Linked DNA regions of Homo sapiens: regions 1, 2, 4, 5, 6 and 7 are each linked to region 3. Evidence: promoter capture Hi-C in 16 types of primary human blood cells and fetal thymus (Javierre and others, 2016). All regions are on one chromosome and are shown on one strand. The core of a region is centred on a gene start or on the middle of the fragment in contact, and the rest is flanking DNA. Distances in the headings are between cores, read along the strand shown. Region 1 has its middle 37 kb from the start of MTURN. Region 2 holds the start of LOC105375216 (a long non-coding RNA gene). Region 3 holds the start of GGCT (gamma-glutamylcyclotransferase). Region 4 overlaps FKBP14 (FKBP prolyl isomerase 14). Region 5 overlaps PLEKHA8 (pleckstrin homology domain containing A8). Region 6 overlaps MTURN (maturin, neural progenitor differentiation regulator homolog). Region 7 overlaps LOC124901607 (a long non-coding RNA gene).

What was found. The method cuts DNA at HindIII sites, captures the fragments that hold promoters and counts their contacts. A CHiCAGO score of 5 or more calls a contact.
Region 1: a contact is called between a fragment that was not itself captured here and the fragment with the promoter of GGCT in region 3, in 2 of 17 cell types (neutrophils and total B cells). The highest score is 7.1, in neutrophils.
Region 2: a fragment that was not itself captured here is called in contact with the fragment with the promoter of GGCT in region 3 in 9 of 17 cell types (total B cells, non-activated CD4 T cells, total CD8 T cells and 6 more); the score reaches 12.5 in total B cells.
Region 4: a contact is called between a fragment that was not itself captured here and the fragment with the promoter of GGCT in region 3, in 1 of 17 cell types (neutrophils). The highest score is 7.4, in neutrophils.
Region 5: a contact is called between a fragment that was not itself captured here and the fragment with the promoter of GGCT in region 3, in 6 of 17 cell types (total CD4 T cells, naive CD4 T cells, total B cells and 3 more). The highest score is 7.3, in total CD4 T cells.
Region 6: a fragment that was not itself captured here is called in contact with the fragment with the promoter of GGCT in region 3 in 11 of 17 cell types (naive B cells, neutrophils, total B cells and 8 more); the score reaches 12.9 in naive B cells.
Region 7: a fragment that was not itself captured here is called in contact with the fragment with the promoter of GGCT in region 3 in 1 of 17 cell types (total CD4 T cells); the score reaches 5.6 in total CD4 T cells.

What each region holds. Positions count from the first base shown.
Region 1 is chr7:30,169,790-30,174,059 of GRCh38, reverse strand. No RefSeq gene overlaps it. Among named protein-coding and RNA genes, the nearest start is that of MTURN, 37 kb to the right of the region's middle. RefSeq lists an enhancer at 4,152-4,270. The HindIII fragment of the contact is 7,030 bases long and covers 1-4,270 here.
Region 2 is chr7:30,131,042-30,135,331 of GRCh38, reverse strand. It overlaps LOC105375216 (a long non-coding RNA gene), which reads left to right and starts at 618. Exons shown (of 3, transcript XR_927146.3): 1 at 618-728; 2 at 1,877-2,015; 3 at 3,849-4,290. MTURN (maturin, neural progenitor differentiation regulator homolog) reads right to left here and starts at 346. Exons shown (of 3, transcript NM_152793.3): 1 at 34-346. The coding sequence starts at 195. RefSeq lists silencers at 51-428, 199-448. The HindIII fragment of the contact is 339 bases long and covers 2,169-2,507 here.
Region 3 is chr7:30,502,855-30,506,763 of GRCh38, reverse strand. GGCT (gamma-glutamylcyclotransferase) reads left to right here and starts at 1,935. Exons shown (of 4, transcript NM_024051.4): 1 at 1,935-2,195. The coding sequence starts at 2,055. RefSeq lists enhancers at 1,460-1,549, 969-1,847, 1,990-2,199, 1,848-2,727 and a silencer at 2,350-2,529. The HindIII fragment of the contact is 6,754 bases long and covers 1-3,909 here.
Region 4 is chr7:30,010,511-30,014,234 of GRCh38, reverse strand. It overlaps FKBP14 (FKBP prolyl isomerase 14), which reads left to right. Exons shown (of 4, transcript NM_017946.4): 4 at 1-3,648. The region is part of intron 2 of FKBP14-AS1 (FKBP14 antisense RNA 1); the gene reads right to left. Among named protein-coding and RNA genes, the nearest start is that of FKBP14, 14 kb to the left of the region's middle. The HindIII fragment of the contact is 2,945 bases long and covers 418-3,362 here.
Region 5 is chr7:30,029,316-30,033,612 of GRCh38, reverse strand. All of the region lies in intron 1 of PLEKHA8 (pleckstrin homology domain containing A8), which reads right to left. Among named protein-coding and RNA genes, the nearest start is that of PLEKHA8, 3.1 kb to the right of the region's middle. The HindIII fragment of the contact is 441 bases long and covers 2,292-2,732 here.
Region 6 is chr7:30,148,247-30,152,276 of GRCh38, reverse strand. The region is part of intron 2 of MTURN (maturin, neural progenitor differentiation regulator homolog); the gene reads right to left. Among named protein-coding and RNA genes, the nearest start is that of MTURN, 15 kb to the right of the region's middle. RefSeq lists an enhancer at 2,489-2,988. The HindIII fragment of the contact is 4,934 bases long and covers 1-4,030 here.
Region 7 is chr7:30,201,480-30,205,796 of GRCh38, reverse strand. LOC124901607 (a long non-coding RNA gene) reads right to left here. Exons shown (of 3, transcript XR_007060274.1): 1 at 1-4,317. Among named protein-coding and RNA genes, the nearest start is that of MTURN, 69 kb to the right of the region's middle. The HindIII fragment of the contact is 4,238 bases long and covers 695-4,317 here.

The sequences.
Region 1 (4,270 bases), core at 495-2,994, 330 kb after region 3:
GACTAAGGCTGGCTCTGTATTTCTCTACAGTGTACACTCAACCACCAGGCTGGTTACTCTGTCTTCTCAGGTATAGCCAGAGTTAACTAATGAATGGGAACCTAAAGGCTGCCTAAAGAAGCTAGTATCACTCACCCACAGAGGGGTAGCCCTTCCTGCATTTACCTGAGACAGCCCAGCTCTCTGTTGCAGCTCTCTCGTGGGTTTTGGGTGCCACCAGCTAGGCCTCGGGAAATGGGAGGATTCCAGGGGAGGCTGGGTCTTCAGGAAGGAAAGGCCTCCCCATCAGACCTCCTGGCCAGCCACTGTGACTGTGCCCTGCAATGGCCCTGGCTGCCCGTTCTACTGCCTTTTGTGGTTACATTCCCCTAACGACTCAGGCAGCCACTGCTAAATTACCACCTATGGCTTGTGGCCATTTCCTTACTAAGCCAACTGAAGCAAGACGGTCCTGGCCTCTTGGTGCAATTCATTTTCCAAAATCCAAACCTAAAACTCCGGACTGCTCCCTGGGTTTGGCAGAGCTCAGCTGTAAACGAGGAGAGGGAACGTACAGGCAGCTGCTGCTACTGTCAACTCATCTGACATCATGCCAGGGCCGCTCTACCATTGTGTGCGACAGAACAATGCCTTCTCTGGCAGAGGAGGCTTGCAGTCTTGCCCCTTGGTGTCTGTCAGGGACTTGGCCGACTTCTCAGCAGGCCAAGAGTGCTGTGTGTGGCCCAGGAATGCCTTCTCTATAAATAGAAGTCATTTGCTGTGCTTCCAATGGGCTGGCAGCCTGAACAGCATCAGCATCATGCTGTACATTCTGCACAGGCCCAGCTGTGGGCGCAATGGTGCAAGATAAATCCGGGAGAGGAGGTGGTGCTGTTAGCAGGCAGCTGTTCAAATCCCATAGCCTGGGGCCACCACAGACCAGCACTGGCAGCTGCAGCTAGCTTCACAGGGAGTCCAGGCAAGTCAGAGATTTTGTTTGCCTGGCAAGAAAATGAATTTGAATCATCACTCGAGACTCACTGACCCATCTTGGGCACAGATTCTAGTTGTCTGTGCACACGAGTTACAATGACTTGGGCTCCCTGAAGTTAACACACACCCTGCCAGGAGGAAGGACAAGTGGAATCTGGTCCCAGTCAGAACCCAGTCTGCCACCCAGACTCTAGGAAGGTGTCAGAGCTCTATTACAGTTCTCTCAAATCCAAATTCCCATTCCCATCTTTCAGAATAGCAAGGAAATGCCAATTTCCAATGGGGTTTGAAGCAGAAGGGTCAAGTCTATGGTTAGGGTGAACACACGTGGTCACTAAGGCCTGCCTGAACAGTCACCAGGGAGAAGGGCAGGCCTGCCAGTCAGTAGAGGGAGAATGTGTCACAGCAGTAATGAGAAGGGAGGTACGAACCCAGAAGTAGGAAAGGAACACCAATTAGAATGAAGTAACTGGAAAAGGAAAGCAGATGGAAGCGAAAAACAAATAGGGTTTTGTATTAGTCAGTTCTCACTGCTATGAATAAATACCTGAGACTGGGTAATGTATGAAGGAAAGAGATTTAATTGGCTCACAGTTCCACTTACTGGGGAGGCCTCAGGAAACTTAACAACCATGGCAGAAGGCAAAGGAAAGGCAGGCACCTTCTTCACAGGGCAGCAGGACAGAGTGAGTGCCAGCAGTGGAAATGCCAGATGCTTATAAAACCATCAGATCTCATGAGACTCACTTATCATGAGAACTGCACAGGGGGGCCGCCCCCATGATCCAATTACCTCCCCCTGGTCTCGCCCTTGGCACTTAAGGATTATGGGGATTATGGGAATTACAATTCAAGATGAAATTTTGGGTGGGGGACACAGCCAGACTATATGAGGTTCTGAAGGCACAGAGTCTCGAAGGCCAGCTGCACCAACCACTTCCATGGAGTCAGTGGCCCAGCGCCAGTGGACCGACCCCGGGAGATCTTCAGGAACCTGCCCTACTCCTTTGGGGATCATGAAATCGTGGTGCCTGATGGCAGATGATGAGGATTCATCAAAGATTCTTAGATAGTGTTTGAAAAAAAGCCTCATCATTCCAGGCTTCCGGTGACTCAGAGCAGTGAGCAGGAGCCTGGATGTCCACAGTTCTAGATGTGAAAACCTAGGTGACTTCATTAAAGAAATGCCACCCCAAGCTCCCACCTCTGCCTGGGAGGCACATGGAGCATTTTTCTGCCCCTAGGCCACCCCACTGGAATGGGGCAGTTTCGGAATCTTCCCAGAGATGGTGCAGAGGCAGGCAGCCTTGGAAAAGCTACACCAGTGACCTGAAAGTGCTCTTGTGCCTGGGACAGCCTCTACCTTAGGTTGGAAAGCAGGCGGGGACACAGCACATGTTCTTGCCTTCCCACTAGAATAGTCTAGGGCTGTGTCTGCTTCATGACTTTCCAATTGGCTGATGACACTTTCTGGATGGTCATCTAGGGATCATGGGGTGGGGGCACAGAGACCTGTACCATCCACCCCCTCCAGTTCCTATTCCCTGATATACCTGAGAATCTCAGAGACTTACCAACCACATGCCCCAATGTTGGAGACCTGAGGTCCAGGGAAGGGGCACAGGAGCTTGCATTTCAGATGCTCTGACTTCCAGCACCTGCCACTCAACACATGAATGAGAGTGCACTGATCTGAGAGTGAAGCAGCCTTCCCATGTCCCCCCAGAGAAAGAGTAACACTGCCTTTCATCTCCCCATGACCCATGCATTCATTCATTCGACAAAGGTTTCTAGAAGGCCAGGACTGTGCTAAACACTGGGGATTCTGTGAAGAACAGGACAAACAGAGCTTTGCCTTCATTAGGTTTATGATCCAGTGGATGGACTGACAAGAAACAAGCAAACAAAGAAATGAGTACAGAATGGCCTATTTAGATAATGACATCTGCCTTCTTCTGAAGTGTAATCCTCAACTGGCCAACCTGATGGCATAATTATATCATGAGAGTGCAGCGAATTTCTGGGAGTCCTCTGATTCAGTCTAGGCTCACTGTTCCCTTTGCAATACTTTCATCTCCTTCCTGTTGGGGCCAATAGATGTACCAAGGGTAGTGTCGTCATTTTTCTACGCAATCAAGCATGCAGCCAAATACAACTTGGCCTCTGCTCATTCATATCCCCTAAATGTCACAGAAGCAATGTGACATCCTATGATGAGAGACCATGCTTTGGAGTCAGGCACAACTAGCTGCCCCCAGCTCTGTCACCATGTGAGCTTAGAAGAGAGACTTTTTTTTCCCCAAGTTTTGAGATGTTAATGGAGATCACTGTGGCATCTGTACAAGGATTTTATTTTTATAGAATGAGATGTGTTAGGATCAGGAAGGAATTTTGCCCAGCTCCTGGCACCCAGTCACGTTGTGATGAATCTTGGCTCCCTGTAGACATAGTGAATGACATGGTGAGCCTGGAGGCCGGCTCAACCCAGAGTTTCTTAAAGTGTGGTCCATGAACCACCTACATGAGGACGGCCTGACATATTTGTAAACTGTAAACCTGGAGTATTTGTAAACTTGCAGCTTCCTGTGTCCAGATTCTGTCTCCAGATTCTGGAGCGCAGCCCAAGAATCTGCATGTTTCACAGCACCAACCCTCCGCTCTGGCCCCACCACCAGGTGATTCTTAGGAGCCTTAAAGTTTGAAACTTGCTGGCTTGATTGGTGGGCCAGGCTTTTGTTACCCTGAGGGTCAAGAAATCACTTTTTAATGGTCAACCCTAAGCAAAAGAGCTTTCATAGGTGTAGAGAGTCACCTCACCCACAGCCTCCTCACCAAAGTACTTCTGTGTGGGAAGGGAGACTTTCGGGACTTTAGCATTCCTCTGCCCTGGCTAAATCCCCTCCACTCAGCACCTTAGGGCCACCCAAAGGAATTACCCACCCTATTTCAGGGGGATGGCAAGACCCAGCTAATGTTGTTTCTGGACATATTGGTATGTCAGGAGGTTGGATCTGCCAGGAGCTTCCTTACAGGAGGACCCAAGGAGCCTCAGTGGGCAGAGCTCATCCTAAGAAAAACATGTCAAGCTCACAAACTGGGTTCATGGGTGACAATGGCAAGGCTGGATGAAAAGGAGATTCTGGCTCTGTTACTCAGAGCAATGTCCAACTGTTTGGACTCATGCCCCTTCGGTGAGTGGCTGGAATGAAAGATGAATAAAAATGGAGAGAGCTGTCACTGGGGCATCACTCATTGCTCATTGGTGTGGCACTCTCTGTGGTCACTGGCAACAGCACCC
Region 2 (4,290 bases), core at 1,089-3,588, 370 kb after region 3:
CCGGCTCCGGCGGTCCCTCCTCCAGGCACTCACAAAATTGTCGCCGCAGCCGTTGTCCGGACACAGCACATAGAAGGAGACGCCGGGGTCGGCGTAGAAATCCATCCTGCGTTCGGTCTCCTCGGTGGCGATGAGCTCGAAGGGCGTGTTGGAGCACCATTTCTCCGCAACGTCGGCCAGCTGCTGGAAATCCATCGCGGCCCCGCGCCCGCCTCCCGCCGCCGCCCGCCCTCCCGCTCCTAGGCGCCCTCCTCCCGGGCGGGCAGCGCGGCGCTCGGCTCGGCCTGCGCGGGCTCCTCCGGGGCCGGGCTGGGCCGGCTGGGACTGTTTACATGCGGTGCGGAGTGGGGCGGGCGGCGGCCGGGGACAGCGCGGCGCCGCGCCCGCGGCTCCTCCTCCGCCCCGCCTCCCCCCGCCCCCTTGCGGGCCGCCGTGGGGGTTGGCGCGGCCGGGCCGGGACGCGGGGCGGCGGGAGGAGCGGCCGGCACCCCCGCGGGCGCCCGGATTTTCCTGGGCGCTCCCGCCCCCCCTTTATTTTTAAACAAACCCGGAGCATCCCGGGGCCCTGGCCATCGCGGTGCCGCCCCGGGCCGTGACGTCATGGGCCCCAGCCAATCACCGGAGCCTGAGACCGCGCCGCGGCTTGCGAGCCCGGTGACGTCACAGCGCGAGCCTGGAATCCGCAGCTCCGCGGGTTACCTGGAAGCGGTGCGAGCGCCCAATACCTGGTTAGCGTTTCTGTGGAGTTAGAAAGCCCAGGAAGCGTTTGCCCAAATGCGATTTAAATGCAAGGGAGGCCATAGAACTGCAGATAACTTGGACCTTGTCTGGGGCTAGCAGTGGAGGAGCTGAGAAAATCTAAGGAAAAGGGAGCTTTTCTTTTTGCAGAAACCAAAGTTCTGTTCTCCGATTGATTTAAGGGAATGTGTCTTCTTAATGCATTTATCAGACACTAATATGAATGTTCACTTGCAAAGGGCGTGTGTGATTTTTTATTTGCGTTACGTAAAGCTGAATATTTCTTAGAAATGAGCCTCATAAGACTGGCTTCAGTATTATTCAGCTTGAATTCACATTGCATAACCTAAAAAGGTCAAGAGGATAAAGCACATTTTAAAACAAGAGTGTGTGGCCCAACGATTGCACCTGTTGAGTGCTCACTGGCTGCCATATACTGGACAGGCATTACTGGATTGCAGAAAATGCACTAGGGTCCTCGCCCTCAGGACTTGAACACTACAAACACAGACACGTTATAAACATTCAGCCAGCTTTTTTCTGTAAAGTGTGTCTTCTGAACCAGGCACTGTGCACGAATTTACATTCCCACCAACACGTATATATGTTTCCTTTTCTCTGCACCCTCACCAACATCTGCTGTTTTTTGACTTTTTAATCATAGCCATTTTGACTGGTGTGAGATTGTATCTCATTGTGGTTTTAATGTGCATTTCTCTGATAATTAGTGGATGTTGAGCATTTTTTCATATGTTCGTTGGCCACTTGTATGTCTTTTTTGAGAAATATCTGTTCATGTCCTTTGCCCACTTTTTAATGGGTTTTTTTTTTTTCTTGTTGAGTTGTTTGAGTTCCTTGTAGATTCTGGATATTAGTCCTTTGTCAGATGCGTAGTTTGCAAATATTTTCTCTCATTCTGTAGGTTGTCTATTTACTCTGTTGATTGTTTCTTTTACTGTGCAGAAGCTTTTTAGTTTAATTAAGGCCCATTTGTCTATTCTTGTTTTTGTTGCACTTCCTTTGGGGTTTTAGTCATAAATTATTTGCCTAGGCCAATGTTGCAAGGAACTGAATTCTGCCAACAACCCGAATGAGCTTGAAAAGCAGATTTTTTTCTCAAACTTGTTGTCTTTTCCAGACAAGAACTGAGCCTGACTATTACCATGATTGCAGCCTTCGCAGAACCTGAGCGAGAACCCAGTGATGCCATGGCTGTGCTGGGACTTCCGACTTTCAGAACTGTGGGCTATTAAATGGGTGTTGTTTTAAGCTGTTAGGTCTGTTTAAATTCTTCATGCAGCAGTAGAAAACTAATACACAGGACAATGAAGGAGACAGGCACATGAATATAAAAATGCAATATGCTGTTGTAAAGTTACAAAATGGTCCTTAAAAAAAAAAAGTATGGGTGTCTCCAGATAGCACAAGCTTCCTTGCAGTTTTACCTGGCACCACCATTTAAAGCATAATATGTGTTCCAAAAATGAATTCCTTAAATTGGAGATGAAAATATGAAAAATACATTCCTTTTTTCCTTTTTCGGGAAAGAAGGAGTTTTTTTTTTAATCCATGTGTTTTAAAATGTATCAGTCAAATTTGCTCCAAGTGATGTGATCAGAATTATGAAGTTATGTTTATTTAACAAATAGTTTTTGTCAGAAAATGAAAAACTCTTATGAAAAATAAAATTTTGGGTACAAAGCAATTGGTCAATGAAATGGATACCGTTGGGTTTCCTTAGAAATGCACTGAGAGCAACAGCAAAAGCTTCAGAACTCCATGTCTGCATTGATTCCTCCCTCTGCCATTTTAAGTTTTATGTGCATCTGCAACTTCCTTCATTGCTCGGAGCTCAGTTTTCTTTTCTGAAAACAGGGACAACAGTGAGATAAAGTATATAAAGTCCTTATCCCAGAACCTAGCACATAGTAAGAACTCAGTAAATGCCATTATTACTCTTAATCTACTTCTTAGGGATGATGTGTAAGAAGATCAGCTAATGAATTTTTAAAGTGAAATTCAGGAGTGATATGACTGGTAATATTGGTCACAGATGAACCTAAATCTCATTTTTTTTTCCAAGTCTTTAGAGCAGGGTTTCTCAGCAGCAGCACTATTGATATTTGAAGCCAAAAATTCTTTGTTGTTGGAGGCTGTCCTGCACATTGCAGGATTTTTAGCCACATTCCCTGGCCTCCACCCACTGGATGCCTGTAGCATCTCCCTCTACCCTCCCCTCTCTCCACTGTGACAAGCAAAAATTTCTCCAGACATTGCCAAATGTCCCCTGAGTGCAAAATTACCCCTACTTGAGAACCACAGATTTAGAGAGAAAAGTCTTGCAACAGTCGTGTTTTGGTCATTTTTACTAACTAGTGGAAAGGGTATGCACATAAAGCAGCTGAAATTCATCCTGGAAAGTTCATCTGCAGAAGTTGCTTGAAATTTTGTTTCCTTAGAACAACTGGTAAAGCCACCAGTTGCTTAGCTAAGAAGATCATAAACCTTTGCCCTGCCTCCCTCCTGTTTGGGGAGAGTCCTGTGAGGCATCCCAGGTTGTAGGGGTGTATTTAGGCCTCATGCACAGGGCAGTGGTCATTTCAGAACTCTAGCCAGGTGTTTTGTGCAGCCAGTAGGTGAGGAAACACCAGGGCTACCCATACCCCCTTTCTTGTGTTCCCATAGCCTTTGGCCATGGTTTGGAAGTAGAAGGAAAATTAAAACTTCTCCCCAGCCAGGCGTGGTGGCTCACACCTGTAATCCCACCACTTTGGGAGGCCAAGGTGGGTGGATCACCGAGCCCAGGAGTTTGAGACCAGCCTGGGCAACATGGTGAAAACCTGTCTCTACTAAAAATACAAAAATTAGCTGGGCATGGTGGCATGTGCCTGTAGTCCCAGCTACTTGGGAGGCTGAGGTGGGAGAATCCCTTGAGCCCTCGAAGTCGAGGCTGCAGTGAGCCATGATCACACCACTGCCCTCCAGCCTAGGTGACAGAGGGAAACCCTATCTCAAAAAACAAAACAAACAGACAAAAAAACTTATCCCCACCAGTAGGCAGAGTTGTACAGTCTTCATTGTATTTAAGGAACGTTTCTGTTCATTTATAGAAATCTGGACTTTGCTGTCTCTGAAAATCACCATTTGCCTTTGGGAGATGTGTGTTGGCAAGAAGAGGAGACATATTCAAACCCCACTGGCTAGGACATCAGGAGCTCAGTATGGAATGCAAAGGCCACCCTAGACTGTCCTGCTAATGCTGACTCTTCTGCCCATCTCTGTTTTGAAGTTCTCCATGGCTTTTATTCTAGTGTAAGTTTGATGTTAACATATAATTTGACCTTTGATTCACTCCTATATTGTAAGTCCGTTAAATTAGCCCTAGTTTTTGATAAATCTGCTCCATCCACATAGCCTTGTGGTTATGCAGTAGGAGGAGGTAGGCAGAGAGGGAAGCGTAGCTGGTTCCACATTCACCCTTCACCTGAACGCAAGGTCGTCTCATTGTATCAAGAGGGACTGTAGACCCCAGGTTCCAGGAGACGGTGGTCA
Region 3 (3,909 bases), core at 686-3,185:
ACCACAAACCCACCAGAAGGAAGAAACTCCAGACACATCTGAACATCTGAAGGAACGAACTCCGGACACACCATCATTAAGAACTGTAACACTCACCGCGAGGGTCAGCGGCTTCATTCTTTAAGTCAGTGAAACCAAGAACCCACAATTCCGGACACACCAGCACTTTGGGAGGCCGAGGCGGGCAGATCACGAGGTCAGGAGATCAAGACCATCCTGGCCAACATGGTGAAACCCCGTCTCTACTAAAAATACAAAAAATTAGCCAGGCATGGTGGCGGGTGCCTGTAGTCCCAGCTACTCAGGAAGCTGAGGCAGGAGAATGGTGTGAACCCGGGAGGCGGAGCTTGCAGTGAGCCGACATCACACCACTGCACTTCAGCCTGGGCGACGGAGTGAGACTCTGTCTCAAAAAAATAAAAATAAAATAAATAAATTGTAACCAGCAGTAATCCTCAGGGAGTAATTTGGCATCAAGTGAATATCCTGTTCCCTATCACCTTTTCACCAAATGATATCACTGATGATCCTGGCATGAATCAATTATAAAATTCCATTATTCATTTAGGATGACTTAGTTGGCATACTTTTGTAAAGAGAACTGTTTCCTCATCAACTGATGCTCGTCATCAGCTGTATTTCAGTTACCCCGAAATACAGCTGCTACTAGAAAGGCGGAATACCTGTTTGTTTTCTTAAATTATCACTTTGCAGAGTAAAGTTGGTGTAATAGTCACCACCAATAGTGTGGCAAATGAAGTTATAGTTTTTTTTTTAATTTGGATTACTCTTTGGGGGGAATGGCTTTTTTATGTTTAAAGTTTCCAATCATTTTTCAGTTTGCAGTCATTGTTATTTTTGATTCTCAAATTGTTCTAATTTTGGCCAGTGGGCAACTTCAGGCTGGTTCCCATGTCCTTTTAGAAGGACCTCGTTCGTCTTGAGAGGCGTCCTGAGCTTCTGACACAAGATGTTCCAAGTTGTCCTCATTCACTCCTAGCTCCTGACCTGGCATCAGTCATTTCTCGAAGGATCACTTGGTACCTTTTAGTGGGGGGTGGTATTTAGAGATTAATAGCTGGGTGTCAAGGATAGACAATGTTCCTATGCCCTTATGTTCATTCAAAAGTTAACAATATAGGTTTTAAAAAATACACCCAGGATGTGTGTGTGTGTGGGAGGGGGTAACCAAAACACAATATAGGGGTTTCTACTGTGACCCTAACTTATATTATGATCCCGATTTTTAAAAAGAGGAAACGGAGACCAGAGGTGCCCAAAGTTACTTGGCTAGTAAATGGCAGCGTCGGGATTTAAGCCCAGGCATGTAACTTCCATGTAACAGGGAAGGGAGTCCCAAGCATTCAGAGGGGCCGCTCCAGCAGGCGACGGGTCCGTGGAAAGGGGTCAGATTGATGACCAGTGCTGGGGGTGCCGGAACCAGCAGAAAGGGTGAACGGACCCGTCCTGCCCGACTCCTCTAGGCCAGGAAGGCAGGACCCGGCGAGCTGCCGGATGAGGGAGCCGTTGATGGAGTCGCCTGGGCCGCTGTTTCGCCTCAGATCTGACCAGAACTTCCTAAGGCACAGAAAGTACCAAAGAACCACACACAAGCACCCCAGAGCGAAGAAACCAGTCACGCGCCACGACCTTCAGCCAGTGTCCATGGGACCCGACCCGCCTGTGAGGAGTGCCTGTCCACCCCTCAATCAGAGGAAGCCTTGAGCAAGGAGGGGCGGGACATCAGTAGGTCGTGTCCAATGAGGAGCCAGCGCCGGATTGCTTCAGGACAGACTATTTCTGAGTCTCGGCGGAAGGCGGAGGGAAGGCCGTGGGGATGGCCAATCAAAGGGGGCGACTCAGGTCGGTGGGGACCGGCAGCCAATCAGGAGAGCGCTCGCTCCTGACTCGACCGGCCCACGCTTCCCGCCAGTCCCCTAACCCTGAGGCTGCCGCGCGGCGGTCACTGCGCCGGGGTAGTGGGCCCCAGTGTTGCGCTCTCTGGCCGTTCCTTACACTCTGCTTCAGGCTCCAGTGCAGGGGCGTAGTGGGATATGGCCAACTCGGGCTGCAAGGACGTCACGGGTCCAGATGAGGAGAGTTTTCTGTACTTTGCCTACGGCAGCAACCTGCTGACAGAGAGGATCCACCTCCGAAACCCCTCGGCGGCGTTCTTCTGTGTGGCCCGCCTGCAGGTGAGTGCCCCCTCCCGCGCTACCCACGCCGGGGCCGGGATGCCCAGAAGGCGCTTCCTCGGGGGCACACGTGGCCGATCGGGCCAGGAATGCAGTTCTTCTTGATGAGGGTACTAGGACGCGGCTTCCGCCTCCTGGGCGGGTCCACCTCCTCCGCTGCGCCCACTGCCCGGCCCTGCCCGGGCCACGGTGCCCTCTCGGGCTGCCTGGAGCTTTCCCCCTCCTGGCCTTTGCACCGGCTGCTCGGTCTGCACCGATTTGGCCTCTCGTCCACTAACTTAACAGATTGCATACAGTTGGTACTTCTGGAGAGTCTTCTCTGACCCGTGTCTGGGAATTGGTTGCCTTCTGTTCTGTACATAACCTTTGTTACAGCACTTCTCACCTGGCATTGTGAAAATCCGTTTACCTGCCTTTCGCTCCTCATCTAAGAGGTCCTGAAAGCTGGGACCATGTCTTATTTGTAATAATGCTGTGTTCAGTTAGGTCAAGGGGCTGCATGAACTATAACCAGTGTTGGTAAATCATTGCTCTTCAGCCCAGTCCATTCATTCATTTAGTACATATTCTTCCGGCACTTAACACTAAGGGTATAAACATGATTGAGTAAAGTGGCTGTTTCGAGGAACTCTCAGTCTGTAGGACAGAGGTGCAATAGATTATGTTCAAAACCTTTTTGACAGCGTCGAATGAGACAAACATGATCTCTGCTAACATCGTGAGTTCTTAGTTGCAAGCAACAGAAACTGGCTGATTTAAGCAAAAAAAAAAAAAAAAAAAAAAAAAAGAATGTGTTGAAAGGCTATTGGAGAGCTCACAGAATGACCAGGAAGGCAGGAGTACAAAGCTGACAAAACGGACAAGCATAAAGGGAGGCACAGCAACTGTAATACAGTGGGCATCACACAACAGAACCAGCCCACGGAGCCTCTTCCACGCCACTGCTGAACTTGGTAAACGTGGATGCTGTATTGTCCACCACCCCCTGCCCTGGACACTGCCTGCCTCTGTACATCCCTGCAGTTCCTGAAACCCAAATGTGTCAGCCTCTCTGGAGTCCCTGCTGTCTTGGGCACTAGCTTCTAATTGAAAGCCCCAGAATGTCCCGATTGGCTAAGTTTTGGCCACGTACCCATGCCGTGATTTTAAGCAAAACTGAGAGAACCAGCTTCTGGCCTTTGAAGCCTCAAAAATGGGAGTCAGGCTCTGATACTCCCTATTCCCAAACTCGTAAGGTAGGGAATTTCCCAACTGTAGGAAGGGAGTCCAAATGCTTACAGTCAGGGCAAGGGGAAGAGATATTAAACAAGGGATTATTCAGTTACAGGTATATGGTCCATCTTAAAAAGGAGGCATGCAAAGTGCAATGGGGCGTATGACCAGGGTACCTGACCTAACCAGGATGCTCAGGAAAGCCCTGCCTGAAAATGTGACTTTTAAGTTGAGACCTGAATGATTGTAGAGGTGGGGAGCACACAAAACAGGGAACAGCATCTTCTGCAAAGGACCTGAAGAAAGAGGAAGCTGGATCTTTCAGTCAGTGTGGCTGGAGTTTAGTAAGGGGAATGTGGCATGAAGACTGGAGATATGTGGAAGGGCCACATCTTCCAGGACCACAGAAGCCAAATAAGACACACTGCAGAACTAAAGCACATGAAAGATAGATTTCTATCTCCAAAAGCCCATTCTGGTCACATGGAAAATAGATTTGAAG
Region 4 (3,724 bases), core at 641-3,140, 490 kb after region 3:
TGGACCTGACTTGTTAATGGCTACTGCTTTACTAAGGAGATGTGCAATGCTGAAGTTAGAAACAAGGTTAATAGCCAGGCATGGTGGCTCATGCCTGTAATCCCAGCACTTTGGGAGGCTGAGGCGGGCGGATCACCTGAGGTTGGGAGTTCGAGACCAGCCTGACCAACACGGAGAAACCCTATCTCTACTAAAAATACAAAAGTAGCCGGGCGTGGTGATGCGTGCCTGTAATCCCAGCTACCCAGGAAGGCTGAGGCGGCAGAATCACTTGAACCCGGAGGCGGAGGTTGCGGTAAGCCGAGATCACCTCCAGCCTGGACACTCTGTCTCGAAAAAAAGAAAAGAAACACGGTTAATAACATATAAATATGTATGCATTGAGACATGCTACCTAGGACTTAAGCTGATGAAGCTTGGCTCCTAGTGATTGGTGGCCTATTATGATAAATAGGACAAATCATTTATGTGTGAGTTTCTTTGTAATAAAATGTATCAATATGTTATAGATGAGGTAGAAAGTTATATTTATATTCAATATTTACTTCTTAAGGCTAGCGGAATATCCTTCCTGGTTCTTTAATGGGTAGTCTATAGTATATTATACTACAATAACATTGTATCATAAGATAAAGTAGTAAACCAGTCTACATTTTCCCATTTCTGTCTCATCAAAAACTGAAGTTAGCTGGGTGTGGTGGCTCATGCCTGTAATCCCAGCACTTTGGGGGCCAAGGAGGGTGGATCACTTGAGATCAGGAGTTCAAGACCAGCCTGGCCAACATGGTGAAACCTTGTCTCTACTAAAAATACAAAAATTAGCCAGGCGTGGTGGTGCACACCTGTAGTCCCAGCTACTCGGGAGGCTGAGACAGGAGATTTGCTTGAACCCGGGAGGCGGAGGTTGCAGTGAGCCAAGATTGTGCCACTGCACTCCAGCCTGGGTGACAGAGCAAGACTCCATCTCAAAAAAAAAAAAAGAAGCAGACCTACAGCAGCTACTATTGAATAAATACCTATCCTGGATTTTAAAAAAGAAAAAAATATATATAATTTTATTTTAAATTGGCTTTTATCTTTAATTCTTTTTTTTAAAGTTATCAAATCTTCATTTTCTAAGAGTAGCCCTTTATAGTGTACAAAATGATATTAAGTGCATTATTATCTTCGCTTTTCATGGCTCTGAGTCATAAAACAAGCTGGTGGATCTCACTGTACCTAATTTATAGACGAGGAAATTGTCATTCAAAAAGATTGACTGTTATGCCCAGGGTCAGCACTAACCTGCAGAACCAGTATTCAGTCCCCAAGTTCAGTGTCTTCTACTGCCCTCTACTAATGAAAAGTGAAAATTTCCCTGGGGTCTAATTCTCTCTTCAGTTTGCTGTGCCGTTGTTTATCTTTGAGTCTTCATTCTCTGAAGATGGCTTTCTGCCTGTTTCTGGTACATTAGAATTCTCACTATGATATAGAAATGGCTTCAGTTTCATAGCATAATCTTGCAGTTAGCTCTGAATTGCCTCAAAAACCCTGAACAACGCGAGGTTCCAGATGTGTTTTACTTCTTTCATTCATATTTACCCCCATTTGTTGTTTAAAAAGAATTATGAACAATTATTACATCATATGTAGACCACTTTCACTGATTATATGTTGACATTTTCCTCAGTAAAACATAAAGTTCTTAACAAGACTATACTGTAACACCTTTCTCCAACAAAATCAGCTGTATGTTGAAAACTATTAAGTCATTGCTAATGTTTTAAGCCATAATACAGACAGCCTTATACTCTATGATGGGAGAAGGGAAAGTAGTTTGTCCGATGGTGCTACTCTGTATAAACATTACTGATGCTATCTATAGTAGGGCAAGAAAAGTAAAAAGAGTTTTGATTATTCAGGCAGCATTTTTAAAAACCTGTGAATTTGTATCAGTTCTCATCTAAACATTTGGACACAAGTATAAAATGAAAACATATGCACAAGTTATGGTTTTTAAGTTATCTGCTCTTTTTTTTGGTTTCACTGTACCTTTGTACTCTTCTATTAGTGGGAATAATCAGACATGAACTGTGACTTCACATGTACAGTCATACCTCACTTAATGATGGAGATGCACTCTGAGAAATGTCTAATTAGGTTATTTCATCGTTGTGGGAACATCATAGAGTGTACTTACACAAACCTAGATAGTGTAGCCTGCTACACATGTAGGACATGTATATAGCCTATTGCTCCTAGGCTACAGCATGTTGCTGTTCTGAATCATGTAGGCAATTGTAACACAATGGCAAGTGTCTGTTTATTCAAACATCTAAACACAGAAAAGATACTACAACAATAACAATATGGTATAAAAGATTTTGTAAAAAATCTGGTCAGGTGCAGTGGTTCACGCCTGTAATCCTAGCACTTTGGGAGGCTGCCTCAGCAGGTGGATTGCTTGAGCCCAGAAGCTCAAGACCAGCCTGGGCAACATGGCGAAACCCCGTCTCTGCTAAAAGTACAAAAGCTGAGGTTGGAGGATCACCTGAGCCTGGCAAGGTCAAGGCTGCAGTGAGCCATGATCATACCACTGCACTCCAGCCTGGGTGACAGAGTGACTCCCCATCTAAAAAAAAAAATATATATATATATATATACTATATATATATATATACCATATATATGGTATATATATATATAGTATATATATATATGGTGTGTGTATATATATATATATGGTATACCTGTATAGGGCACTTACTAACGGAGCTTACAGAACTGGAAGTTGCTCTGGATGAGTCAGTGGTGAGTGAATGTAAAGGCCTAGGACATTACTGTACACTACTGTAGACTTTATAAACACCGTACACTTAGGTGACACTAAAATTTATAAAAAATGTTTTTCTTCTGGTTGGGCATGGTGCCTTATGCCTATAATCCCAGCATTATGGGAGGCCAAGGTGGGTGGATCACTCGAGGTCATGAGTTTGGGACCAGCCGGGCCAACATGGCTAAACCCCATCTCTACTAAAAATACGATAATTAGCCAGGTGTGGTGGCACATGCGTGTAGTCCCAGCTAATTGAGAGGCTGAGGCAGGAGAATTGCTTGAATCCAGGAGGTGGAGGTTGCAGTGAGCCAAGATCGAACCACTGCACTCTAGTCTGGGTGACAGAGGAGCAAGACTCTGTCTCAAAAAAAAAAATTCTATAATTTTTATAGAAATAATAAAAAACTAACCTTAGCTTACTGTAAATTTTCTAGTTTAGAAACTTATTTAAAAACAATTTTTGGACTCTTCTAGTAATAACGTAGCTTAAAACACACATTGCATAGCTGTACAAAAATATTTTCCTTATATCCTTATTATATAAGCTTTTATCTATTTAAATTTTGAATTTTTAAACTTTTTGGTCAAAAACCAAGACAAACACACTAGCCTAGGCCTATGCAGGGTCAGGATCAAGACATCCCTAGCAGGTGACAGGAATTTTTCAACTCCATTATAATCTGTGGGGCCACCATCATATATATATTGTACATTGACCGAAACATGGTTACATGACTATATAATTTGCGTCAATACTGCTCAGTGTGCCATATTTAAATTTACATGACTATATTGTGATATTCTTTTCAAAATAAAGTTTATTTGGGAGATAACTGATTTTGTGAAAAATTCTTCAACACCAATTTCCTCAGCAGTTGTACTGATTTTCTTACCTGTTATTCTAAATTT
Region 5 (4,297 bases), core at 1,263-3,762, 470 kb after region 3:
GAGTGTTCACAGCAGTGTTATTTCATAATAACCAAGAAAAACAAAAACAAAAAGAACAGCCCAATCCAAATGTTCTTCAACTGAAAATGGATAAACTAAATATGGTATACATATACAATGAAATATTATTTGGTAATAAAAAGGAATGAAGTTCTGATACATGCTATCCAAAAAAAACATTATGCTACGGGAAAGCAGCCAGCCACAAAAGACCACATATTATATAATTCCATTTATATAAACTGCCTAGAAGAGGCAAATCTGTGCAGACAGATTAGTGGTTGCCAACAGTGAAGGGCAGGTGTAGGTGTAGGAGTGACTGCTAATGGGTACTGGGTTTCTTTCTGGGATAATGAAAATGTTCTAAAATTGATCATGGTAATAGTTACACTTTTTATATATACTAAAATCACTGACTTGTACATTTTAAATGGATGAATTTTATGGTTTATGAATTATCTCCATAAAGATGTTAAAATGTTAACAACAACAAAAAGGGTTGACCAGTGGTTGTGAAACCAAGAATCCTCATACTCCAGATGTCTTCCTGGTACTGTTTACACAGCACTAGTATATATAGTATATAGGGCAAGAGTCACCTTCCTCCACCTGAGGGGAAACAAAATTATAGCACATCCTTAATGAAAACCATCTGGCCAGTATGATGCAGGCTTTTGTTATTTTCAGAATGCAGTAATGCAATGTGCTTGAGCTTTAACCTGCTGGAGAGGCACAAGCAGCCTTCGGCTGGCTGGAGTTCACAACAGCAGCCCTCCTATCAGCTGAGTGGGCAGGAAAAGGACCTAAAACTACAAAGTAGAAAGCACAGGTTAGAAAATTTCCTCGTGGCAAAACATATGCACAACATTGGGCAGTCAAAGCTTTCTTCACTTCTGAATTCCTCCCCACTTCCCACCCCCGAAATAGTCTGCTATTCTAGGTCAAACATACTTTAAATATAGGTACATTATGAATCAGCTAGAATTACATAATGATCAAGCAAGAAGGACCTTTAAAAGTATTGTCTAATGGAGCACTGACTCTGAAGCCACTTAATAAGTGGCTGTGTGACCTTCAGCAAACCCACGTCTCTATATCTCAGTGTCTTCATCTGGAAAATGGGCATAATAAAGGCAACTGTTTTTTGAAATTGCTGCAAAGACTGAGTTAATCCATGTAAAATGTTTAGAAAAGTGCTTGGCACATTGTAAGTACTAATAAATTTTTAACAGTTCTTACAATTATAAACTAGTAAATCCCATTATTTTAAATGGAGGAAGATACTAAGGCTCAGGATGCTAAAGTGACCCTGCAGTTGGCAGTAATAGGGCTGTTTGCCAGGCTTCAGGTCTCTCTGACTCCTGAACCAGCGTTCTAGAGTATTAATGTGTAGCCCTACATGTATAATACTCCTTGACTAAATTTTAGGTCTTGAAAGACACAAATAACAAACACAGTGCTTCTTTAGAAGTATGTCTCACACAATGTGGGAATCTGTAACATGTTTTTAATTTACTCTCTTCATCCCAAGTTTAATCTTCTAACATCTAAAGAAAGGTACTGGCACTAAATCCCGGAATGTCCAAAAGGCAGGATGAAACCAGACTGTAAACGAAAATACATGTAAACTTTTTTTTTTTTGTATTTTTCATTGAAGGAGGATAGAGTACCTGAATACGCTTAGCATTTAAGGGAAGAGACTTCTTTTCTCTTCTAGAAATACACTCACATAAACCTCAGACGCTATTATCAGGGCTTGATGAATTCTAACTTTCAGTAATTAATACCTATCGATTTAAAATTCAAGAGGCAAAAGAAGCTCACAAAATAATAATACATAGTATTTAGTGAAGTACAATAAATGCAGCAGGAGAGATATAAAGATGTAACCAGAAAATGTTCTACGCTACGCTAAAGCCAGAGTAAGCTTTTAAACAATCTCATCATTTCTCTCTCACAGACGCATGCATGCATGTACCCACATGCACACACACAATCACATCACAGTGTTTAAACCAGCCTATGAGGCCCTGAAATATCTAGCCTCCCGCACACCCCTGCATCTTTGTTGGAGCCTCACTCTCCTCAGCTCTCAGCCAGATGGGTCCTCTTTCCTTTCCTCAAACTCGCACGTCTCCATTCTGCTTTGGGGCCTTGACACTGGCATTCCCTGTGCCTGAAAAGTTCTTCTTTATTTCCTCTAACTACACCTCTGCCTTGGCCTCTCCAGCGAACTATTAACAGCTTGATTTATCCTTCAGACTCTGCTTAAATTTTTCCTCAAAGAAGCTTTCTCTAACAACCCGTACTAGCCTCTCTGCCCTCCCTCCTCCCCAATCAATCACACACAATGAAACATGGTTCTAACCACTTAACCAATAAATATCTTTCTTCCCCCACCAGACTGTAGGCTCAAGAAGGGCATGGGCTTTGTTCAACATTGCTTCCCCTGTGCCTAGCACAGTAGATGGTAAATGAAATTAACAACATCCCCTAAGGATTCAAAAGACCAAGTGATAAACTGATTTCCTAACTTCACTCAAATTTGACACAAGGCATCCCATATCAAGCTGTCAGCATGACAAATACACAAACCATACAGAGGCATGGGTTACGTACTACCTTTGGAGAAAAATTCAGAATGAACAAAAACTTGGATTGGGATTGTATGTATTTTAAAGTTAGTATGTGCAAACCTACAAGAAAAAAAAAGTTACTTTTTAAAACAAGCTTCAGAAAAAGAAAAAGTAACTTGTCACTAACACAACATGCTCACTTCCGAAGAACAAGTAGAAAAGTGGAGGGTGGAGGAAACAAGAATGCATGTGATCCTCCTAGGCTATTACCACTTCTTTCCCAAGTAAATTTATCTCCTAAAAGGAGAGAATATGCCGAACCATCATTCTATGTATATCTGGAAAATACCCAGTGGTGTGATGGGCTTCTATGAACAGTATGCCTACAAGGACGGGGCACGTGGGCTAAGGGAACAAGCAGCATCACGTAGAGACAGCTGTCTCTGGCAATGGCTCCAGTGCCCTCTTCTTCAGGGTTTCCACCCTAGCACCACTCACAGCATTAACTTCTCTTACTTTGGGAAGAAAAAAGTAGACTCTTTTCCAACAGAACAGATAGGAATCAAATAACAAAGATTCCAAAAGATCCTTCTAGAGAGTTCTGCTTTATTGAAGGATACACAAGGACAGTCAGCAACAACAACAGCAAAAGCATTTCACTACCAGGAAATAGTTACTGTATCAAGAGACTAAACTTTCTATATAGAAAGGAGAAGGAAAAGAGGGGGAAAAAACCCCACAAAACAACAAAAAAAGTTGGGGATGGGGAAGAATGGGAAAAAAAGAAGAATGTTGAAGATGAATGAAAAAAAGTGTGTGTAATGGAAAGGAGTGAAGGATCAGGAACTAAATTTTACTCAAGTATATGCATCTGAGAGCTTAGAGAGACCTCAGAAGGAAAACTGCCAGGTCGAGCCTCCTCCCCTTAGGTTAGCAGTGTTGATCAGCCTCTGTCATCCACCAAACCAAAGCCTAGCTTTGAGTTATTCTCATCTAATCTAATTGCAGACATCACTGAAGGTCCTTGACGCAAACAAGAAAAACCTCTTCTCATTTAGTCTCTATTAATGATTACAGAAAAAAAATAAACAGGTGAACTCACTGCTAATTACACTAAGCAAAGGGAAGAGATTCTGGGTACGCCCAATAGGGGCACCTTTGGCTGTGCTGTGTGACCTCCTCGAAGTTACTATGTATGCCAACTGATCCTCCCACACACACCCATTCTTAAAACACCCGGCGCATTACCATACTACAACCTTTTAAAAACTATCCCACAAAAGAAAGAAAACGTCTCTCACCCACTCTAAGGGATACTGGGAACATTTCTGCTTTCAAACACACTGCCTTTAAAATTTTAAAGACCTAATTCATTTTCTGTGATAAAAAGTTTACTTCCAAAAAAGTGGCTAGCACAGTTTCCAGCATATAGTAGGCTTGTATTAAATACTAGTTGCACACATGACAAAAATGATCGTTCTGAATAATTTTCACAGCTGTAGAACAGTTACAACCTTCTCAAGATATGAAGCTTTTACCTCCACAAACTAGAAAAAAAGGGCGGGGACTATTTTAAAGCCAATCTGTAAGGCACGGCAAGAAAGTTGCAAATATTTGCATTCATTTAACGGTAATTTCTGAGTCTGTAAAACAAAAGGAAATGCTCAACGAGAAAATAAAAAACCTTGTGCAGAGCTTTGAAACTGTGGAGTTGGGACTCT
Region 6 (4,030 bases), core at 553-3,052, 350 kb after region 3:
GGTGGCAAGATGGATGCAGCACAATGGGCAGGAGGAGGCACTCTCTTACCTTTTGAGGCCATCATACTCTCTAAAAAAGAGAATGGTTTGAATGTTCATAACATGAATGAGAAAAAAAAAAAGGAAAAAAGAAAAAAAAGATAAACTGTCAATATTCCATGTTTATTATGAAACCCACATGTGTGCATAATCTTTTCTCATCAGACTTTCCCTGATCCACCCAGGCAGCTTCTGACAGGTGGATTCTTTCTCTTTTCCAGGCTCTTGACCAGACTCCATGAGTAGAGGCAAGAATTGGACTTTTTCTGGGACACAGGATTTTCCTGTGGGATTTAAGCCGCAGCTCTCCAGCCACTTGTGGCAAACTGAAAATATCAATCTTGCTTATGCCAGTGAACCAGAATTAGGGGGATTTTTCTGGCAGAAATGTCTCTTTCTTGAGAGAAGAAACGCAGAGTCACACAGCAAGCCCAGGAGAGGACTTGGGCCAACTGAGTGAGAATCTACAAGGACCACAGGACCCAACTCCAGGCCGGGCCATGGAAGCAACAACAACCAAACAGCACAAAAAACTGCAAGAGCAATAGGGGACTCAGGACCCTAATGTCCACAGCGTTGGTAAGGAGAAGAACACACTCGAGGAAGCAATAGTTCCTTGTTAAGCCCATAACACTTTGAGAGAATTCGAAAGGGCAAAGATAAAGTCTAGTTTCACTGCTAAATTGGAAATAGTAGGCTATTTCTTCTCTTGTAAACTGTTTTCTACCCAGCAGTAAGTCTGTCAGTTGACACTAAATATAAAACATGAAAAGATGGTGGGGAAAACTGAACGGCATGATCACCATTATTTAGGTCCGTAACCATTGTTTCATTCTCCAGCTCAATCGTGTATGACCAGCAACTGTCAATGGAGGGTCACTTAAGAAAAATGCAAGGTTCTGACGATTATCCAACTCACACTTACCAAAGTGATTGATGGGGGTTTCTGAAACCACTACAAGTAGCAGTACCTGCTCGTGGATGCCAACAACAGCCTGCCTGGCATTGTCATGTGCATACATGTGCCATTTGGATACGACATGCCAGTAGCAAGAAAAAATAGGTAAAAATCATACCTCTCTGAGCAATCAACATTAGCAAGTAGGAGGTCACTGGAGTGGAGTAGAATGTGGGTCACTCGAGGGAAGGTGGCCGGCTGCATCCACAGTCATTTACCCATCCAATAAACATTTCCTAATACCTGTTAGGAGCCAGAAACTGAGACTAAATTTAGCAGAGTGTCTGGGTTTTGACAATCCTTTGGGTTCTCAGTCTGACTTCAAAGTTCCCCATGAATCCACAAGACAGCTAAATCAGTATTGCCCCCATTTTAAAGCTGGGGACACTGAGGCCAAGTGTACCTGTTAGAGGCCACACAGCATGGGAGCAAAACAGGGCAGAGCCGATCTACCTTCCACCACATGGAGCCATTTCTAAGGAAACGGAGCTGAGGCAGCCAAGATGGACGCTTCCTGGACTTCCTCCTGGGCCAGCCCTGCCCCTGCTCTGAGCACGTCTAGGTCCGGCTATTCTTCAGTCCCACCTCCTCATGAAGCCACTGCCTGGCTTTGTTCCTCAATGAGCCTGCTCACACTGATACTCCTAGCCCTTCGAATACGCTGGAAGCCACAGTTTCATTAAAAAATATATTTTCTGATAATGTGATCATAGAAAACTTAGAAAATGTGGAAAAGAAGAAAATAAAAAATCATCCATAACCCTGAGCGCTTTGGCCACGTGCCCCTCTGGGAGGACAGGTGCATCCACTGGTCCTCTATGGAGTCCTAGCCTCTAGCACAGTGAGTCGTGTGGATCAGGTACTCAGTGAATGCTTGTAATTTTACCAAAACCAATGTTGATAAACTTTTGACTTACCCTTCTAATGCCTTTTCATGTTGAAATCACTTAGCAAATTGTTTTCTCTCTCCACCAATAATCTAAGGTTCCCCCCAACGGTAACCTGCTCACTTCTCCACAGTATTTTGTCTAGTATCCTCATCCTATCCACATCATACTAACATTGACTTAGTGCCTACCGTGGATAACGCACTGCACTGAGTACCCAACAAAAACTCCATTAATCTTCACTGCAACCCTAAGGGAACTATCATCATTAATTTTCTAATTTTACAAATGAACTGAGAAACAGAGAGGTTAAGTAACTTGTCTAAGGTCACACAGCCAGCAAGTGGTAGAACTGAGACTTAAATCCGGGTAGCCTGACAACAGACCTTGGGTTCTTCATGACTGTAGTACCTGTTCCCTCATAATTGGGTTAAGAGATGACAAGCAACCCCCTGCAGAACATGCTCACAGAAATAGCTCTCCCAAGAACCAGTAGAGTGCAGTAGGCAGAGCAGGGGACTGCTCTAAGATGAAGGTAAAAACACTCCTCCTGGGGCTGGCCCACGATAAACAAAAAAGCAGCTGCATGGATTGATCAGATTCCCATGTATTTTCAGGGAAATGATGTGCTGGTTTTACCCACTTGATAACCTGTAGCATTTGGGTAAGCGTTTCAACAAATACGTTCAACTGTGATGACAGCAACAAAACCCCTACCTATGTCTTATCTGTAACAAACCTCCCTTACGTAAAACAAACAGATAAATGGTGCCATTGGGAAGCAGTGCTCTATTTGGTGGAGGTGGAGAGTGTCAAAGTTTCTCCAGGGATCTCTGTGGTCCTTTATTCGGGTTTGTGACGCTCCCTCTCATTCAGTCTGGGGCGCATCCTGACTGGGAGAAACTTGAGGCCTTCAGCACTTCATCTTTACCAGTCCGGGAAGGTGCCTCCCACCAGCCTTGCCCTCAGGGGTAAACCGGCCCTGCCAGAGGGCGGCCCAGCCCACAAACCTCCTCACCAAAGGGCATGCTGTGCCACGTCAAGGCCTCCTCACCTGGGGAGCCACATCCCTGCCCACAAGGTAAAGTTCCACTTCAGAAAGGAAACCTGGAAGCCCAGCAACAGCACACCAAAGCTGTGGGCCCACGTGACACATCTCAGCGCCACCTGAAAGAACTTCCTCAACCAATCCAACTGCTTTCAGCTGCACATCCGGATTTCTTTTGGACCGCATTTGTTTCCTCATTTAACGTGGCTAGCCTGGTTGCCAAAATACAACCAGAGCCTCGGTAAGGAAAAACAGCACAGTGACTCCCGGCTGGAGCTCCCCTTCCCAGGTGAGCCAGTTCTGCAGGGAGGGGAGGCTGCCTGCCACCACAGACGACACCCACAGAGACCAGCTGGCGGCAGGTCAATGAGTGAGCCCCTGTGAGGAAACCTGCTGCAAAGCGAACCTCAGTTGCTAACGGGTATTCTTCTGGTTAAAATTTACAGGAATCCATTTCTTTTTAATTTTGCCTAATGTGATCTCCCTTCTTCGATGTCTAACAGGCATTTAAAACACTGACATGTCCAAAACTGAGCTCTGACATTACCAACCCCAAACTCCCCACCACCCGCCCCCGCAGCCTTCCCCATCTCAGTAAATGACTAGGCCATTCCCTTCACTGCTTGGGCAAGAAACTCAGGGTCAGCCTTCTCTCCCTTTTTCCCACATCCCACTTCTGATCCACCAGCAAGTCCAGCTGGGTCTACTCTCAAGGTATCTCCAGAATCCAACCCCTCACCCCGCCTCTGCCGTGACCGTCCCAGTCCAGGCCACCACTATCTCTCACCTGGATGACAGCAATGGCCTCAATGGCCTCTCTGTCCCTCCCCTAACACAGCCTGTTCTCAACACAGTCATCAGAGGGAGGCTTTCAAGATGTGAAGTCAGGTGACATCCCTCTTCTGCCTAACCCCTTGGGGGGCTCCCCATCACTCCAGAGTAAGAGCCCATGTCCTTCTGTGACTCCTGGAATTCCTCCAGCTCACCTCTCTCTAATTCCTTCAGCCACACTGGCCGCTCCTGCTCCCTGGACACAGGTGTTGTCCAACCCCGAGGCCTTCATACCTGCTGCTCTCTCTACTGAAAATGCTATTCCCC
Region 7 (4,317 bases), core at 1,564-4,063, 300 kb after region 3:
CTTAAATTGTGATAAAATACACATAACATAAAATTAACCATTTTAACCACTTTTGAGTATAAGTCCGGTGGCCTTAAGTATATTCACATTGTCGTACTACCATCACCGTCATCCATCTCAAGAACTTTTTTCATCTTCCCAAACTGAAACTCAGTCCCATTAAGCAATAACCCCCATTCCTCCCTGCCCCAGCCCCTGCAACCACCATTCATTCTACTTTCCTCTTCTGTGAGTTTAACTTCTCTAGGTACCTCATAGACGTGGAATCAAACAATATCTGTCTTTTTGAGACTGAATTATTTTACTTAATATAATGTCTTCAAAGTTTATCCATGTTGTAGCATGTGTCAGAGTTTCCTGCCCTTTTAAGGCTGAATAATAATATCCCATCGTATGAGTATGCCACATTTTGTTCATTCATTCATCCGTCGATGGACACTTGGGCTTCTTCCACCTTTTGACTGTTCTGAATCATGCTGCTATGAATGTGGGCATACCAATATATCTTCAGGTCACTGCTTTCAATTATTTTGGGTTCCAACAACTTTTCTCAAGGTATTATATTAACATAATGGTTGTTAAGTCTATGGTAAAGACTGTATGATAAAATTAAGATGAGACGTGGAGAAGTGGGTCTAAGGGCCACTCCTTTCTCACACTCACCCCTTGGCTGATGGCAGCAGCTCAGCAAGCTTGTGCTGCCGAGGACAGTGAATTTCTCAGAGATTCATCCAGCTAAATCATTAAGGAGTAGCCAAGAAGGACACTGTGAAAACATAAAGGGGCCGGGCATACAGGCCACGCCTGTAATCCCAGCACTTTGAGAGGCTGAGGCGGGCAAATCACTTGAGGTCAAGAGTTCAAGACCAGCCTGACCAACATGACAGGGTGAAACCCTGTCTCTACTAAAAATACAAAAATTAGCCAGGGTTGGTGGCTGGCGCCTGTAATCCCAGCCACTAGGGAGGCTGAAGCACAAGAATTGCTTGAACCTGAGAGGCAAAGGCTGCAGTGAGCCGAGATCACACCACTTCACTCCAGCCTGGGTGACAGAGCAAGACCCTGTCTCAAAAAAAGAGAGAGAGAGAGAGAAAACATAAAGAGAATGGGGAGTTTCCAGTTTGGCGAAGAGTTGGCTCAGGTGTCTCCTCCCTGATCTAAGGTAGTCTTGATGGATTCCTGTTTGAAGGTCAAGTGTTGGCTTAGAGGACTCTCCAGGGTCCAGGCTGTGATTCTGGCCTAAAGTCTCACCCTCCCAGGCAGTCTGACCCAAGTTAGAACACGAGGAAAATTCACTGAGATGTAAATACAAGGTAGCAAAAAGGCATTCGCCATCTCACACCTTGGCTGCCCCACCCCAAAGAAGGACATAGCTTCAATAAAAAGTCCAGACAATGTATTTTGTTATTTTTGATTGACATATAATAATTATACATATTTATAAGGTACATAGTGATGTTGCAATACATATAAGGTATAGGTGATCAGATCAAAGTAATTAGCATATCCATCATCTCAAACATTTCTAATTTCTTTGTGTTGGGAACATTCATTATCCTCTTTCTAGCTATTTAAAATTATGTGATATATTATTGTTAACTTTGTCATCCTACAGTGCTATAGAACGCTAGCACTCATGCCTCCTATCTAGCTGTAATTTCATATTCTTTTTTTTTTTTTTTTGAGGCAGAGTTTCGCTCTTGTTGCCAGGCTGGAGTGTAATGGTGCGGTCTCAGCTCACTGCAACCTCTGCCTCCCAGGTTCAAGTGATTCTCCTACCTCAGCTTCCCAAGTAGCTGAGATTACAGGCACCTGCCACCACACCCAGCTAATTTTTGTATTTTTAGTAGAGATGGGGTTTCACCATGTTGGCCAGGCTGGTCTTGAACTCCTGACCTCAGGTGATCTGCCCACCTCAGCCTCCCAAAATGCTGGGATTACAGGCATGAGCCACCACACCAGGCCTTGTAATTTTGTATTGTTTAACAAATCTCGAGACTTTTTAAAAAATATGCTGTTTTTTGTCAAACCAAGTTATTAAACATTTTAATATTATAACATCAGTATTAAAAAATGGATCAAAGTTGTTTTTATTTTTGTTTTTAAAGAATGAAAGCAGGCATCTGAAATCTAAAGAGTGCTAACTTACTGAACCCCTACATAGGTGGTTTCATGAAGTCGCTTTGCTTTTTACCAAATGACCAGGAAAGAGGGAGGGAAGTAATCTTTGGAGCCAAACTTAAATGTGACTATTACATGCGGATGCCAAGGCACAGGTTAAAAGTCCATTTAACTTGAGGGCTAAATCTTTATAAATAGTATTTTTATATTGAAGCAAACATGAATATATTACAGAGAGGAAGTCAAATATTTCCATTCAGGGCATTAAGAAGAAATTTAAACTCAAAACAAGCCAGTTAGGTCGCCAGCTCCTGTGTCCAGGGATATGTTTTTACTCTTATTTGTACTTCTGGAAAGTTCAGGGAAAAACTTTCAAGAAGGAAATAGATAATCTTGGCCCCTCTCTCTACATCATGGCTTTTCAGCTTCAGTTCTGTATTAGTCAGTATGGTAACGACTATGGAAGGGAGAAAACATAATTTATTTCTTTGCATTTTTATGTTCTTAGTTGAGACACTCTCCTAAAAACAAAAGTCACAATAATAAAAGAAAAAGAAGCAGAAGTTTATTAACAAGTGCTGTACCTGTCATGTGGGAGAGGCCTCAAAAGTATTTCTCTCTCGAGGCAGTGGCTTAGAGGCTTTGCTTAAATAATGTTTTAACAAAGAGCCATAAATAGTACATAGTGTCAAGACAAAAGAGAGAGACATTCCCGTCTTTGAAAAGGCGGGAGAAAGTGGAAAATAGTAGAATCTATTTCCAGATTCCTCTGGTGCCTCCTGCTGCCTTCTCTGGGCCAATAAGCAAGTGTCCAGTAAGGAAGGATTTATGTCCTGCTGTCAAGCAAATAGAGGCTGAGGCAGAGTGTTCCCCTGCATTTTTAGTGTTTTTAACTTAGCAATCCTCAGTGTTTTGAGGAGAAATGTTTTGGTTTCCTTCAACTGTAACAAGCAAGCTCCAAATCTCAGTGGTTTCACATAACAAAGTTTTAATTTTTTCCTCTGTATCACAATGCAGTAAAGATGGGGATGTAGTATGGTATGAGAGACTGGTCCACACAGTCACTGAGGGATCCAGGTTCCTCCCATCTTGTGGCTCAGCTACCCTCTAGGACTTCAGAGTTCTCTCCTAGATCCTCTGCATCTAGCCAGCAGACAAATAAAGAGAGACTATGTATGATCTCACAGAAGATTTAAGAAGGCAGGCCTGGAAGTGGTGTGCAACACTTCCAGCCACATTTCACTGGCCAGGACTAATTGCATGGTCCCATCTAGATGCAAGGGGGTGGGGAAATGTTGTCTAGCTATGCCCACAGAAGGAGCAGAGCACCCAGATATTGGTGGGCCCTAGCAGTCTCTGTCTCAAATTCCCAATTGGCTCATTCTTTTCAATGTTTTGAGTTCATTCTCCCTCATATACTCCCAGATAGAGTATATGATTACCCACTCATTAATCTATACCAGGTTCCTGGCCAACCTGTAGTTGCTTCATCACAGGCTTCTGTTCTCAAAGCTGCCATGCCACATGTGACCAGGCAGAGGCTGAGTTTTCTGTAGCAGTAGGAAACACGTCTGCAACACACTGTCACCTGGGGGCGGGGAGGGGAAGACCAAGCAGCATTCTCTGGGCATCTCACCTCCACCTTCCATCATATAGTCATACCCCAGCATCATGGGTCATTTTATAAAAGCAACTTCCCCAGCTTCTGTTGTTCACCCTTCTTTCTTAGAAGAGCTCAGAAAACTGTCCATGGAACCAGAGAAGGGCACAGCCCCCCACATCCCTTCCAATGAGACCTAGAACTCCCCAACTCTAGGCATCACGTCTCCCTCTCAGTCAGAGCAAAAGATTCCAAAAAGAAAAGATTCCAAAAAAGAAATCAAATATCTGTGGGCCTGTGGGCCTCAGCAGGTCACCAAACAACCCAGGACCAGTCTGAGTTTCCTTGTTTAGGCTCAGCAATGGTCATCTCATAAATGATCTGTAATGTCCTTCATTACAGATGGAGAAAAAAATGCATGAGTGCATGAGGGTGGTTTATAACAGTGGCAGCATACAGAGCGACCTGGCAGCTTTGTGGCCACACAATGATGGCTACAGTATGAGGAAGAGAGAACAGGGCTGGCTTTGGCATAGGAACCAAGGGGAAACGGCAGATCCCAGGGGCGTTCTTTAGGAAACGGCAGCAAGCCTGCT